Regions from separate parts of the Homo sapiens genome. Here all the other regions are linked to region 4. The links are contacts of gene promoters, found by promoter capture Hi-C in human tissues and cell types (Jung and others, 2019). All regions are on one chromosome and are shown on one strand. The core of a region is centred on a gene start or on the middle of the fragment in contact, and the rest is flanking DNA. Distances in the headings are between cores, read along the strand shown. Region 1 has its middle 71 kb from the start of ACAA2. Region 2 overlaps ACAA2 (acetyl-CoA acyltransferase 2). Region 3 overlaps LOC105372112 (a long non-coding RNA gene). Region 4 holds the start of LIPG (lipase G, endothelial type).

Evidence for each region. The method cuts DNA at HindIII sites, captures the fragments that hold promoters and counts their contacts. A contact is called where the count stands out against the background at its distance.
Region 1: a contact is called between a fragment that was not itself captured here and the fragment with the promoter of LIPG in region 4, in 6 of the 25 tissues and cell types used here (H1 embryonic stem cells, IMR-90 fibroblasts, adrenal gland and 3 more).
Region 2: a fragment that was not itself captured here is called in contact with the fragment with the promoter of LIPG in region 4 in 3 of the 25 tissues and cell types used here (dorsolateral prefrontal cortex, hippocampus and liver).
Region 3: a fragment that was not itself captured here is called in contact with the fragment with the promoter of LIPG in region 4 in 1 of the 25 tissues and cell types used here (heart left ventricle).

What each region holds. Positions count from the first base shown.
Region 1 is chr18:49,741,028-49,744,072 of GRCh38, reverse strand. No RefSeq gene overlaps it. Among named protein-coding and RNA genes, the nearest start is that of ACAA2, 71 kb to the left of the region's middle. The HindIII fragment of the contact is 9,868 bases long and covers 1-3,045 here.
Region 2 is chr18:49,806,558-49,809,623 of GRCh38, reverse strand. The region is part of intron 1 of ACAA2 (acetyl-CoA acyltransferase 2); the gene reads left to right. Among named protein-coding and RNA genes, the nearest start is that of ACAA2, 5.4 kb to the left of the region's middle. The HindIII fragment of the contact is 8,087 bases long and covers 1-3,066 here.
Region 3 is chr18:49,705,021-49,708,183 of GRCh38, reverse strand. All of the region lies in intron 3 of LOC105372112 (a long non-coding RNA gene), which reads right to left. Among named protein-coding and RNA genes, the nearest start is that of ACAA2, 110 kb to the left of the region's middle. The HindIII fragment of the contact is 6,279 bases long and covers 1-3,163 here.
Region 4 is chr18:49,560,679-49,563,929 of GRCh38, reverse strand. LIPG (lipase G, endothelial type) reads right to left here and starts at 1,873. Exons shown (of 10, transcript NM_006033.4): 1 at 1,525-1,873. The coding sequence starts at 1,621. RefSeq lists an enhancer at 1,166-1,666. The HindIII fragment of the contact is 10,319 bases long and covers 1-3,251 here.

The DNA.
Region 1 (3,045 bases), core at 181-2,680, 180 kb before region 4:
GTGGCTAGGACCACAGGTGCCTACCACCACACCTGGCTAATTAAAAAAAAATTTTTTTTATAAAGACAGGGGTATCACCATATTGCCCAGGCTGGTCTTGAACTCCTGGGCTCAAGCAATTCTGCTTTGGCCTCCCAAAGTGCTCGGAGGTGTGAGCCACCGTGCCCAGTCAGTGAATGATCTCTTTTTCCTAAGACGGTTCAGATAGAAGCTCTGTTACTTGCATCCTGCCTTGTGACCCTATCTCCTACCTGCCCACCTTTCCATCATTGTTGTGGTTTTCCTTCTCTTTATCTTCCACCTCTCCCCACCCTGACCCCTTTCACAGGTCCACTAAATTGCTAAAGCCTCACTCTGCCTAATAGAAACACCCCTTTCTCCTGTGAAGTCTGCACAGCTGCACCTTCCCCTCTCCTGTCATCCCACTCCGGGAAGAGCTGCCTCACTGGTGTCATCATCTGCTCCTTCCCTTGCCCTTCACTGCCAGGCTCTGATGCTTATCTCCCTTGGAGGCCAATCTCTGAAGACCCAACCCAGTGGTCTTTTCTTAGCCTTCATCCTCTTCAATCTCTTTCCCTCTTTTGTATTCCTAAATGTACAGGCCTCCCAAGGTTTTGGACTTGGCCCCACGCATGTTGGTCCTGACTTGTCCTTCTTTCGCAATCCCGTCTGTCTCCTTGTTTAGATGTCCCTACTATGGCCCTCAGATCTGTCTGTTGGTCCCTGACCCATCTCCAGCCCTGAATTCGCAGTGGCCCTGAACGCAGCCTCACCTGCATGCTTCATCAGCACCTCAAACTCAAACTGCCCAGAAAACATCTGGATATCATCAGGAAAAAGACACTGGACCCATCCCTTAGACCCTACACCAGAATACATTCCAAAAGGATGAGAGATCTGTGTTTGAATAGTGTAAAAGAAAAATTGGAGACACAATTACATTTTAAAGAGTTTATTTGAGGAAAAAGCAATTCATGAATTGGGGTATGCCAGACCAAAAAAATGTTCAATGTTCTAATGACATAGCGTCAGAGGCAAATATTTTTAGGTTGAATACGGAAAAAAGATAAAGAAATTATTTGATTGGTGACAGTTGCAAAATTATCTTATTTGATTCATCCCATTCGAAAGTCCCTAGTTATATAATTAGAAACTTTTTGTCTGCCAATAATTGGCTGAGGTTTTCTTTCTAACATAAGCATTTACCAGAAATGGCTAAAGTTAAGTTTTGCTAAAGTTTGCAAATTAAGCAAAGTTAAGATGACTTATGAGGCCTGACTGCTTTTGTCTAGTCAGAGATTCTTCAGGCTGGTCTCTCGTCATTTTAATTTACTTTAACAACAGTGAACTCATAGGAATTAGAATAAAGACTGAAACTGCAAGACTGAAAGCACATACCACTTATTAGGAAAAATCTCTAACAGTAAACCTTCAGACACATTCTGGTTAAACCATTAAACTAAAATTTTTTTTTCACATTCAGGACAAAAATAATTCACTTACAAGGAGAAAAATCAGGTGGGTTTCAGATGTCTTTCCAGCAGCAATCAGTGCCAGAGCAAAGGAGAAATGTCCAGAAGAAAAACAGAATATGACCCAAGTGGATTCTACCCAGCCAAGCTGGAGCTTAGGTATAAAGGCAAGAGCTCACATTTTCAGACATGAAGGGACTCAGAAAATACAACATCTGTTAGCCCTTGTGAAAAATCTACTTGATGGTGAGATCTTGTTAACTAAAGGTTGCATCAAAAGAGAGTCCTGCCATTCTGAAGCTGTAGAAGTGGGATTGGTAGGGAGCATGGAATCCAGGTGGATGCAGGAATGCTATTAACACCCAGGAGAGAGATGGTTTCAGATGCAGAATGAAATGTTGCAAACTCTGAAAAGTTGAAATAATTTAAGCATCGAAACCAGAAAGAAGAAGAGGGCAGGATAGACGTGTATCTAAATGTTAATCTCTTATCTTTCCCAGCGTGTATCAATCTCATCTCTACGGAAACTCACTTTTTTTTTTTTTTTTTTTTAGACATAGCACTCTGTCGCCCAGGCTGGAGTGCAGTGGTGTGATCTCAGCTCACCGCAACCTCCGCTTCCTGGGTTCAAGTGATTCTCCTGCCTCAGCCTCCCTAGTAGCTGGGATTACAGGCATGTGCCACGACACCCAGCTAATTCTTTTTGTGTTTTTAGTAGAGATGGGGTTTTGCCATGTCGGCCAGGCTGATCTCGAACTCCTGACCTCAGGTGATCTGCCCACCTTGGCCTCCCAAAGTGCTGGGATTACAGGCGTAAGCCATTGTGCCTGGCCGAAAACTCACATTTTAAAAAACCCACAATGCAAAAAAATAACAGATGCTGGTGAAGTTGTGGAGAAAAGGGAACGCTTATACACTCCTAGTGGGAATGTAAATTAGTTCAGCCATTGTGGAAAGTAGTGTGGCAATTCCTCAAAGAACTTAAAACAGAATTACCATTCAACTCAGCAACCCCATTATTGGATATACACCCAAATGAATATAAATCATTCTACCATAAAGACATATGCATGTGAATGTTCATCACAACAGCACTCACAATAGCAAAGATATGGAATCAACCTAAATGCCCAGTGGTAGACTGGATGAAGAAAATGTGATACACTTACACCATGGAATACTATGCAGCTATAAAAAAGAATGAAATCATGCCCTTTGCAGCAACATGGATGGAGCTGGACGCCATCACCCTAAGCAAATTTACACAGGAACAGAAAACCAAATGCCACATTTCTCACTTATAAGTAGAAGCTAAACGCTGAGTACATATGACACAAAGAAAGGAATGACAGACACCAGGGCCTACTTGAGGGTGAAGCGTGGCAGGAGGGTAAGGAATGAGAAACTACCTATCGGGTACCATGCTTATTACCTAGGTGATGAAATAATCTGTATACAAAACCCCAATGACACACAATTTACCTATATAACAAACCTGTACATGTACCCCTCAACCTAAAATAAAAGTTAATAAATAAAAAAATAAAGAACCCACAGTGAGTCCAACTTCGTA
Region 2 (3,066 bases), core at 169-2,668, 250 kb before region 4:
CAGACTGGCTTCTTTCACTTAGCGACATGCATTTAAGATTCCTTCCTTTTATGGCTTGATAGCTCACTTCTTTTTATTGCTGAATAATATTCCATTGTATGGCTGCACCACAGTTTGTTTATCCATTCACCTGTTGAAGGACATTGTTGTGGGAAGTCAGGGACCCTGAATGGAGGGACCGGCTAGAGCTGTGGCAGAGGAACATAAATTGTGAAGATTTCATGGACATTTATCACTTCCCTAATAATACTCTTAACGCCTGTCTTACTTTAATCTCTTAATCCCGTTATCTTCGTAAGCTGAGGATGTACGTCACCTCAGGTCCACTGTGATGATTGTGTTAACTGTACAAATTGATTGTAAAACGTGTGTTTGAGCAATATGAAATCAGTGCACCTTGAACAGAATAACAGCGATTTTTAGGGAACAAGGGAAGATAACCATAAGGTCTTTACTGCCTGCGGGGTCGGGCAGTAGGAGCCATATTTTTCTTCTTGCAGAGAGCCTATAAACGGATATGCAAGTAGGAGAGATATCACTAAATTCTTTTCCTAGCAAGGAATGTTAAGACCCTAGGAAAAGAATTGTATTCCTGGGGGGAGGTCTATAAATGGCCGCTCTGGGAGTGTCTGTCTTATGCGGTTGAGATAAGGACTGAAATACCCCCTGGTCTCCTGCAGTACCCTCAGGCTTATTAGGGTGGGGAAAAAACGCTTCTTGGTAAATTTGAGGTCAGACCAGTTCTCTGCTATTGAACACTGTTTTCTGTTGTTTAAGATGTTTATCAAGACAATATGTGCACAGCTGAACATAGGCCCTTATCAGGAGTTTTTGATTTTGCCCTTTGCCTTGTGATCTTTGCTTTGTCCTTTGCCTTGTGATCTTTATTGGCCTCAGAAGCATGTGATCTTTGTTCTCCTTTTTGCCCTTTGAAGCATATGATCTTTGTGACCTACTCCCTGTTCGTACACCTGCTCCCCTTTTGAAATCCTTAATAAAAACCTGCTGGTTTTGTGGTTCAGGTGGGCATCCTGGACCTACCGATATGTGATGTCACCCCCGGCGGCCCAGCTGTAAAATTCCTCTCTTTGTACTCTTTCTGTTTCTCAGACCGGCCGACACTTAAGGAAAATAGAACCTACACTGAAATATTGGGGGGCGGGTTCCCATGATAGGACATCGTGGTTGCCTTCAAGTTTTAACAATTAGGAATAAACATTTGTTTGCAGGTTTTTGTTTGAACATAAGTTTTCAAATCATTTAGGTAAATACAAGGAACCTGATTGCTGTATCATACATATGGTTAGGTGTGTTTAGTTTTATAAGAAACTGCCAAAGTGTCTTCCAAGCTGGCCATACCATTTGCATTCCCACCAGCAGTGAATGAATTTCTGTTGTTCCACATCCTCACCAGTGTTTGGTGTTGTCAGTGTTTGGGATTTTAGCCTTTCTAAAATCCAAAAGACTAATAGTTGTGTAGTAGTATCTCATTGTTTTAATTTGCAATTCCCTAATGACATACAATGTTGAGCATCTTTTCATATGCTTATTTGCCATCTGTATATCTTCTTTAGTAAGGTATCTGTTCAGATCTTTTGCCCATTTTTAAATTGGGTTGCATGGGTTTTTTTTTTTTTTTTTAATTGCTGAGCTGTAAGAACACTTTGTATGTTTTGGATACCAGTCCCTTATCAGTTAGGTGTTTTTATAAATATTTTCTCCTAGTCTGTCGCTTGTCTTTTCATTCTCTTAACAGCATCTTTTGCAGAGCAGAGGTTATTTATTCATTTGTTTTTAGAGGGTCCCGCTCTGTCACCCAGGCTGGAGTACAGTGGTGTGAACACGGCCACTGTAGCCTTGACCTCCTGGGCTCTAGCAGTCCCCTTGCCTCAGCCTCCCAAGTGGCTAGGACCACAAGCACACACCACCATGCTTGGCTGATTTCTTAATTTTTTATAGAGACAGGGTCCCATCATGTCTCCCAGGCTGGTCTCAAACTCCTGGGCTCAAGCAGTCCTCCCACCTTGGCCTTCCAAAATGCTGGGATTATAGGCATGAGCCACTGCACACAGCCAGAAGTTTTCTATTTTAATGAAGTCCAACCTAAGTTTTCCCTTCATGGATCCTGCTTTTGGTGTTAGATCTAAAAAATTATCACCAAACCCAAAGCCATGTAGATTTTTCTCGTATGTTCTAAGAGTTTTGCATTTTATATTTAAGTCTATGATCTCTTTGTTTTTGTTTCTGTTTTTTTAGATAAGAGATCTCACTCTGTCACCCAGGCTGGAGTGCAGTGACTTGATTGTAGCCCACGGTAGCCTTGAACTCAGCCTCCTGAATAGCTGGGACTACAGGCACATGCCACTATGCCCAACTAATTTTTTACATTTTTTAGAGATGGGGATCTCGCTATGTTGCCTAGGCTGGTTTCAAACTCCTATCCTGACACAGTCCTCCCACCTCAGCCTCTTGAGTAGCTGAGATTATAGGCTTGAGCCACAGTGCCCAGCCCACTATCAAAGTTGACGCATTTTTGCCTGGATTCATTTTGTTTGGTATATAGATGTTTTGTTGTTCCAGCACTGTTTGTTGGAAAGACGATCCTTTTTCCAGTGAATTGCCTTTCCTCCTTTGTCAGACCTTGAGGTTCTGGCTTTGTTTTTTAATCTTTTTTTTTTCATCTGTTCTTCAGATTGGTTAATTTCTATTTATCTATCTTCAAAGTCGCTGAATTTTTCTCCTTTCATTTCTATTTTGCTGTTAAGCCCATCCAGGGAATTTTTTATTTCAGGTATTTTCCAGTTTTGGAATTTCCATTTTGGATTTTTATAGTATGTATTTCTTTACTGAGATGTCCTATGTTTTATTAGGAGCATATTTTCCTCTACATCCTTGAGCATAGTTGTAATAGAATGCTATTTTAAAATCCTTGTCTGCTAATTTCAGTGTCTGGGTCTTCTTGGGATTGGTCTCTGTTGATTGTCATATTTTTTGTTTCCTCATATGTGGATTAACTTTGAATTATATTATGAATATTGCAGATGGAACATTGTGGAGACTGGATTC
Region 3 (3,163 bases), core at 615-3,114, 140 kb before region 4:
ACTGGGGAGGCTGAAGGAGGAGAATCGCTTGAACCGGGGAGGCGGAGGCTGTGGTGAGCCGAGCTCGCGCCACTGCACTCCAGCCTGGGTGACCACTTGCCAGACAGAAAAGATGGCAGTTCACTAGGCCACTTACCTCAACATTATACCAAGTGCTGGGTGACTTGATTCTGGGCTACAGACATCATAGGAGCTGGGGGCATCAGATTTTCCCATAAAGACCTCACCTTTTGCCTTTCTGGTGGGTAGTAAACGCTAGAGCTTGCAGTGCCCACCAGCTTAGCAAAGGGCCATTCATTCAGCCTCTCCTCAATCCCACTGTGAAACAGGCCTGTGTATATGCAGCTCAGTGAAGCTCTAGCAGTAACTGCAGGGCAGAAGCTGGCTGGCTCCCAACTGACAACTTGATTTCTCTGCTAATGCCTTACCTCCCGCTACATAAAAATTTCCCTCCTAGACACAAGTTGAAAATAATATACTGATAGCTACTTAGTAACCTCAGTAAGAATTAAAACTGAGGTCATTTACTAATTTTGGAGAAAGAACTTACCTGTAAATCTTTTATCCTCTTTCGGTGAAGGTTTCCATTTAGGAAAAAAGTGTCAAACAATCCCTGATTTTTTTTTTGTATCATTTTCATTATTACACCAAATAAATGTTGGGAGTTGCCAGAAAAAAAAAAGATGACAGAAGAAATAGCAGGGTAAAAGCCCACAAAGGTGGGCCCTGGAAGCTTCTTTAATTGAATTACAACCATAGTAAGATTGTGAGTAAGTTGCTCTCTGAGGGCACTTTCCCCAGCCAGGAACCCCCCACCATAATGATCTGTGCCTTCTGGGAACCCAAAGGGGAACTTAAATGTTTATCTTTAATAAACACCACTTTACCCCAGGAGGCTGAGCTAGGCTTTGAAAACAGTAAAATAGGAAAGGGTGTTACAGGTGAGCAATATTCAGCTTGAATTCCAGTTTGATCAAAATATGTAAAAATGTGTTATTTCAAGAATGAGTCATAGCACCAAAATGGCTTGAGCTTTTTAGTCTGAGAGATTGCAAATTTTAGCTGAGAAGTCTCAATGTTCACTCTGAATTGGGCTGCATCTTACAAATGTCTCCTCTCTGGATCAGAAAGCAGCTACTAGAGCTGACTAGAGATGGGGACGAGTGGGCATTGAGAAAAAACTATGGGCTCACTCTGTAAACAAGGAACCCAATAAAGTAAAGACAGCCAGACCACCCACCCACCTTTAGCAAGTCTCTTTAAACCATGTGGATTCATCAACAGCTGTTCAGGGGCATTTCCAGAAACTGCTTCAAGGTCAAGCAGTCTGAGATGAGCGGGTGGCTATTGATGACACCACCATCTAGAGCCACTCCACACAGTGGAAGGCACAAAACATCATGTTTGTTGAAAACCAGAAACATTTCAAGAGGTAAGATGGATGTATAAAGGTTTTCCAGATATTCCATTACATTTTTCTCTATTGCTGAAATCTTTTTTTTTTTTTTTTTTGAAATGAAGCCTCGCTCTGTCACCCAGACTGGAGTGCAGCGGCACGATCTCGGCTCACTGCAACCTTTACCTCCCGGGTTCAAGCAATTCTCCTGCCTCAGCCTCCCAAGTAGCTGGGACTACAAGTGCACACCACCACACCTGGCTAAATTATTTTTTGTATTTTTAGTAGAGATGGGGTTTCATCGTGTTAGCCAGGATGGTATCGATCTCCTGACCTCGTGATCCACCTGCCTCGGCCTCCCAAAGTGCTGGAATTACAGGCGTGAGCCACCGTGCCTGGCCTGCTGAAATCTTTTAAATATTACTAAAAATTTACGGATCCACATGAAATATGCTCACCATCATTAATTGCTAGGGAAATGCAAATCGAAGCCACAATAAGGTACCACCTCACATCCATTAGGATGGCTGTAACCAAAGAAACAGAAAATAACAAGTGTTGACGAAGATGTGGGAAAATTGGGGCCCTAGTGTATTGCTGGTGGGTATGCAAAATGGAGCAGCTACTGTGGGAGCTAGTATTCTGGCTCCTCAAAAAAATTTAACATAGATTACCATATGATCAGCAATCCCACTTCTGGGTATGTTCCTCCAAAAAATCGGAAACGGGACTCAAACAGCTATTTGCACACCGTGGTTCATAGCAGCATTATTCACAATAGCCAAAGGTGGAAACAACCCAAATGCCCATCAATAGAGGTGGGTATAAACAAAGTGTGGAATATCCACACAGTGGAATATTATTCAGCCTTCAAAAAGAAGGAAATTCTGGCACATGCTACGACATGGATGAACCTTGAAAACACTTTATTAAGTGAAGTAAGCGAGACACAAAAGGACAAATACTATGATTCCACTTACATGAGATACCTAGAGCAGTCACATTCCTAGAGGCAGAAAACAGAACGGTGGTTGCCAGGGGGCTGGTGGGAGAAAGGGGAATGAGGAGTTAGTGTTTAATGGATACAGAACTTCAGTTTGGGAAGATGAAAATGCTCTAGAGATGGGTAGTGGTGATAATAGCACAACATTGTGAATGTACTTAATGCCACTGAACTGTTCACTTAGAAATGGTTCAGATGGGCTGGGCGCGGTGGTTCATGCCTGTGATCCCACTTTGGGAGGCTGAGGTGGGCAGATCATCTGAGGTCAGGAGTTCGAGACCAGCCTAGCCAACATGGTGAAACCCCCTCTCTACTAAAAATACAAAAATTAGCCAGGCGTGGTGGCGGGCACCTATAATCCCAGCTACTTGGGAGGCTGAGGCAGGAGAATCACTTGAACCTGGGAGATGGAGGTTGCAGCGAGCCAATATCGTGCCACTGCACTCCAGCCTGGGTGGCAGAGTCAGACTCCGTTTCAGAAAAAAAAAAAAAAAAGAAAAGAAATGGTTCAGATGGTAAATTTTTATGTTATATATGTTTTACTATAATTGGCCAGATGTGGTGGCTCATGCCTGTAATCCCAGCACTTTGCAGGGCTGAGGCAGGTGGATCACTTAAGGCCAGGAGTTTGAGACCAGCCTGGCCAACATGGTGAAACTCCATCTCCACCAAAAATAAAAAATTACAAAGATTTTTTAAAAAAATACAAGAAAACTGAAAAATATGGCGTATTTGTCATTCAGAAGCAAAAAAAAAATTGAAAA
Region 4 (3,251 bases), core at 624-3,123:
GGGAAACCTAGGAGAAAAGAAGTCTCCTGGATTCCTGAGACAGATCTGCGGATAAACCCACATATGGACAAAGACTCTTCCTCTTAGAGTCTGACCTGCTCTGACCCCAAAGTTCTCTAGGTACATTCCTACTACTTTTGGCCTGGGTCACTTCAGCCTCTGGGACTTTCTGATTGTTCCTCACCCAGATGTCCTCATGGCTCCTTCTCTCACCCCCTTCAGCTCTTTGCTCAATGGTCAACTTCTCCAGAAAGGCCTTCCCTGACCACATCATAAAATCGCACCACCTTCCCCCACCAACATGCCCCACCTTCCTCCTCTGCTTGATTTTTCTCCATAATACTGAGCACCACTGATACTTTAATCAGTGCACTGTCTGTCTTCCCACCACTGAAATGTAAGTGTCACAAGGGCACAGATTGCCATCTATTTTGTCCACTGCTCTCTCCCCTGCTCCCAGAATAGTGTCTGACACTAAGTAGGTATGCAGTAAATACTTTTTGCAATGAAGGAAATGACTCACACATACTCAGAGGCCCAGAACACAGAAGTTAGAAGGAACTTTAGCATTTTACAGGTGAGGAGCCAGAGATGAGACCTGCCCTAGGCAATGCTTCTAGTTAGCACCAGAGTTGGAAACATGTTGAGTAAAGCAAGGCTTTCCATTCATTCACAGTAACCCTCCCACACATACACAAGCCCACACAGACCATTTGGCACAACCTCAGCAGACTAGAAGATGAGATGATGGGGTTCAGTTTAGAGGCTCCCCAGCCCTCCACTGCTTATCAGCTGACTTAGTTCTCACTCTGATTCTGACTCCCCCAGAGCTGACTGACTCTGGCTCCCCCAGGGCAAGCTGCCTCCACTGGCAAAGGCTGCCATACAGAACCCAAGAGGAAGAGAAGCTAAAAGCCAGGAGGAGGAAAGGGAGGAGGAGTGGGAAGAGGAAGAGTCGGGGGAGCACAAGAGTGTTGAAGAGGAAAAGGCTGGCAACCTGGGGGAATAGGCCCGGCAGCTTCTAAGCACAAGCGACCCACCAGACGCTCCCTGCAAGCACGAATCAAACCAAAGCCAGCTACCCTGCCACCTGAACTTTCAAGACACCTACACCAAGATTAAAAGGCAGCTCCAGGAGACACAGCTCTGACAGCCTTCTTGCCTCTCAAACCTCCAGGTTCAGGCATGAGGACAAGGTTTCAGAGCTGCTGCCAGGCCGCTCGGCTGGCTGGACAGCACCAGCACTGGCTTAGGGAGCCGTATAAGGGAAGGAGGTGGGGGTGGGAGGGCTGGCAAGAGCCAGCGCACCCTGCCAGCCTTTGCCTTTTGCATGACTTGCCGGGAATGCCCCCATCAGACCAGCAGAGAGACAGGTGGACTCCAAGGTGGATTGGAGGAGAGAATGGGCAGCGCAGTGGGAAAGGAAGAATTTCATAGGAACAAGGAGGGTTTGAAGAATCAGCAAGACAGAGGGGACCCAGCACAGAGAAGTGGCTGGGGGGAATAAAAACAAATTCACGTTACCTTCCAGCCGTCCCTCTGGACCAAAAGGTACGGGGCTCCCCGCAGCAAAGCAATAGCAGAGGCTCCAGAAACAGAGCAGAGGAACGGAGTTGCTCATCCTGCCCCGCCACACCCCCTCCCAAGAAACAGAAGTTTTAAAAAACAAAAACCACCTCTTGGTGTTTCCAGCAATCCCGGCCGGTAAGACCCTTCTCTCGGCCAGGGGCTGGGGGACTGGAGGCAGAGAAGGTGGAAAATGAAAACTTGGCGGCACGGAGCCCGGGCGGTGGCAGGGAGCGAGTGTCAACGGCTTGCCCCAGAACGAGATCTGCCCTCGTCCTGAGCCGCCGGGAGGCAAGGACTCGCTGCTGTCACGCTCCTATAGAGGTAGTTTTTAAAAGTATGGGAGTCATCTGACCCATCGCCAGATGGTGATTTGCATAATTTATTCCCGTCTCTGGGCTCTGATTGGTCACACCTTGCTGACGCCGGAACCGAGACTGGAGAAAGTTTGAATGAAAGCGCTGCACACTCACCGCGTGGACGCCGCACGCTCGGCCCCGCTTCCTCCCGGGCCCGCTCCGCAGGCAGCTGCGACTCCAGCAGCTCCAGCTTTCTCCCACTGCCCTCCTCCGGACACCCAGATCCTCCTCTCCCCACTGCCATCCCAAGTGGCGGAGGCGGACATTTCCCTGAAACTCTGCGTCCGCTGGGGAGGCGATCCCTGGAGAAGGAGAGCATCCTCTCCAAGGCTCAAAGCCACACTCTCTCTGGGAGTGGTCTATCCGCTCCCTGGGCCGGGAGTCCGTCGGGGGAGAGCCACCTGGTCATCCCCTTTGTCCTCCTCTTCTCCCTCCCTTCCCGCCTAGCGAGGGCCGCAACAGGTGCAGAAGGCGCGGCCGCACAATAACCCGGCGGAGCTAAGGGGCTGTGAGCTGCGGCCGGCGCTGGAGGATCGCACAGTACCTGCTCGGAATGCTCGCTCCGCCACTAGCTGCAAAACTCCAAGCGAGCCAGCCAGCTTCTCCGAGGCGGTTCTCTCGTCCGCAATACGTGGGTGATAATGTATCGGCGGCTTAGGGATGTTGGGAAAACTAAGAGTTCACGTAGCAAAGCACTTAGCGAGGCGCGGAGCTCGTGGCAGGCGCTCTCCTACGGTGGGGTGGAGGGCTACGGGAACACCAGGCGACCTCCTCAAAGGGACCAGTGAGCCGAGATTTGGAGTCTAAGACGCGTGGCCAGAGCCCAGTGTCTGCCGATGAGCACTCACTCCTTGGCGAGTGAAATCAAGCATCTCCTTTCTCTCTGTTCTCCATCATTTCCTCCCGGCTCTCCTTCCCTTTATTGATCCGGGTCCTGCGGCAGAAAGCAGCGAGCGGAGGGAGAACTTGGCCCGGAGTCTGCGTCTGGCGCTGGGGAGCGGGGACTGAGCCCGGAACACCGACGGGGCGGCTGCGCCAACAACCACTGCGGACGCAGGGCGGGTACGAGAGGCTGAGAGGCTGCGTCCCGCCATCCAGCCTCGCTCCAGCCGGGAGGATCCGGCTCTTTAAGACGATACCCTTAACCCTGCAGTCGCCCGGAACAGGTCCTGCCCCTGCCTGGGGAGGGAAAACCCCCACAGCAGTCCCGCGCCCCTTCCTCCCTAGCGTCGAGGATCCAGCTGGAGAGACCTGTGCGAGGAAACCGAGCCGGAGCCAGCAGATCCTGTTCCGACCTCGCCTCATTACTTTTGTTACTCCAGCTGC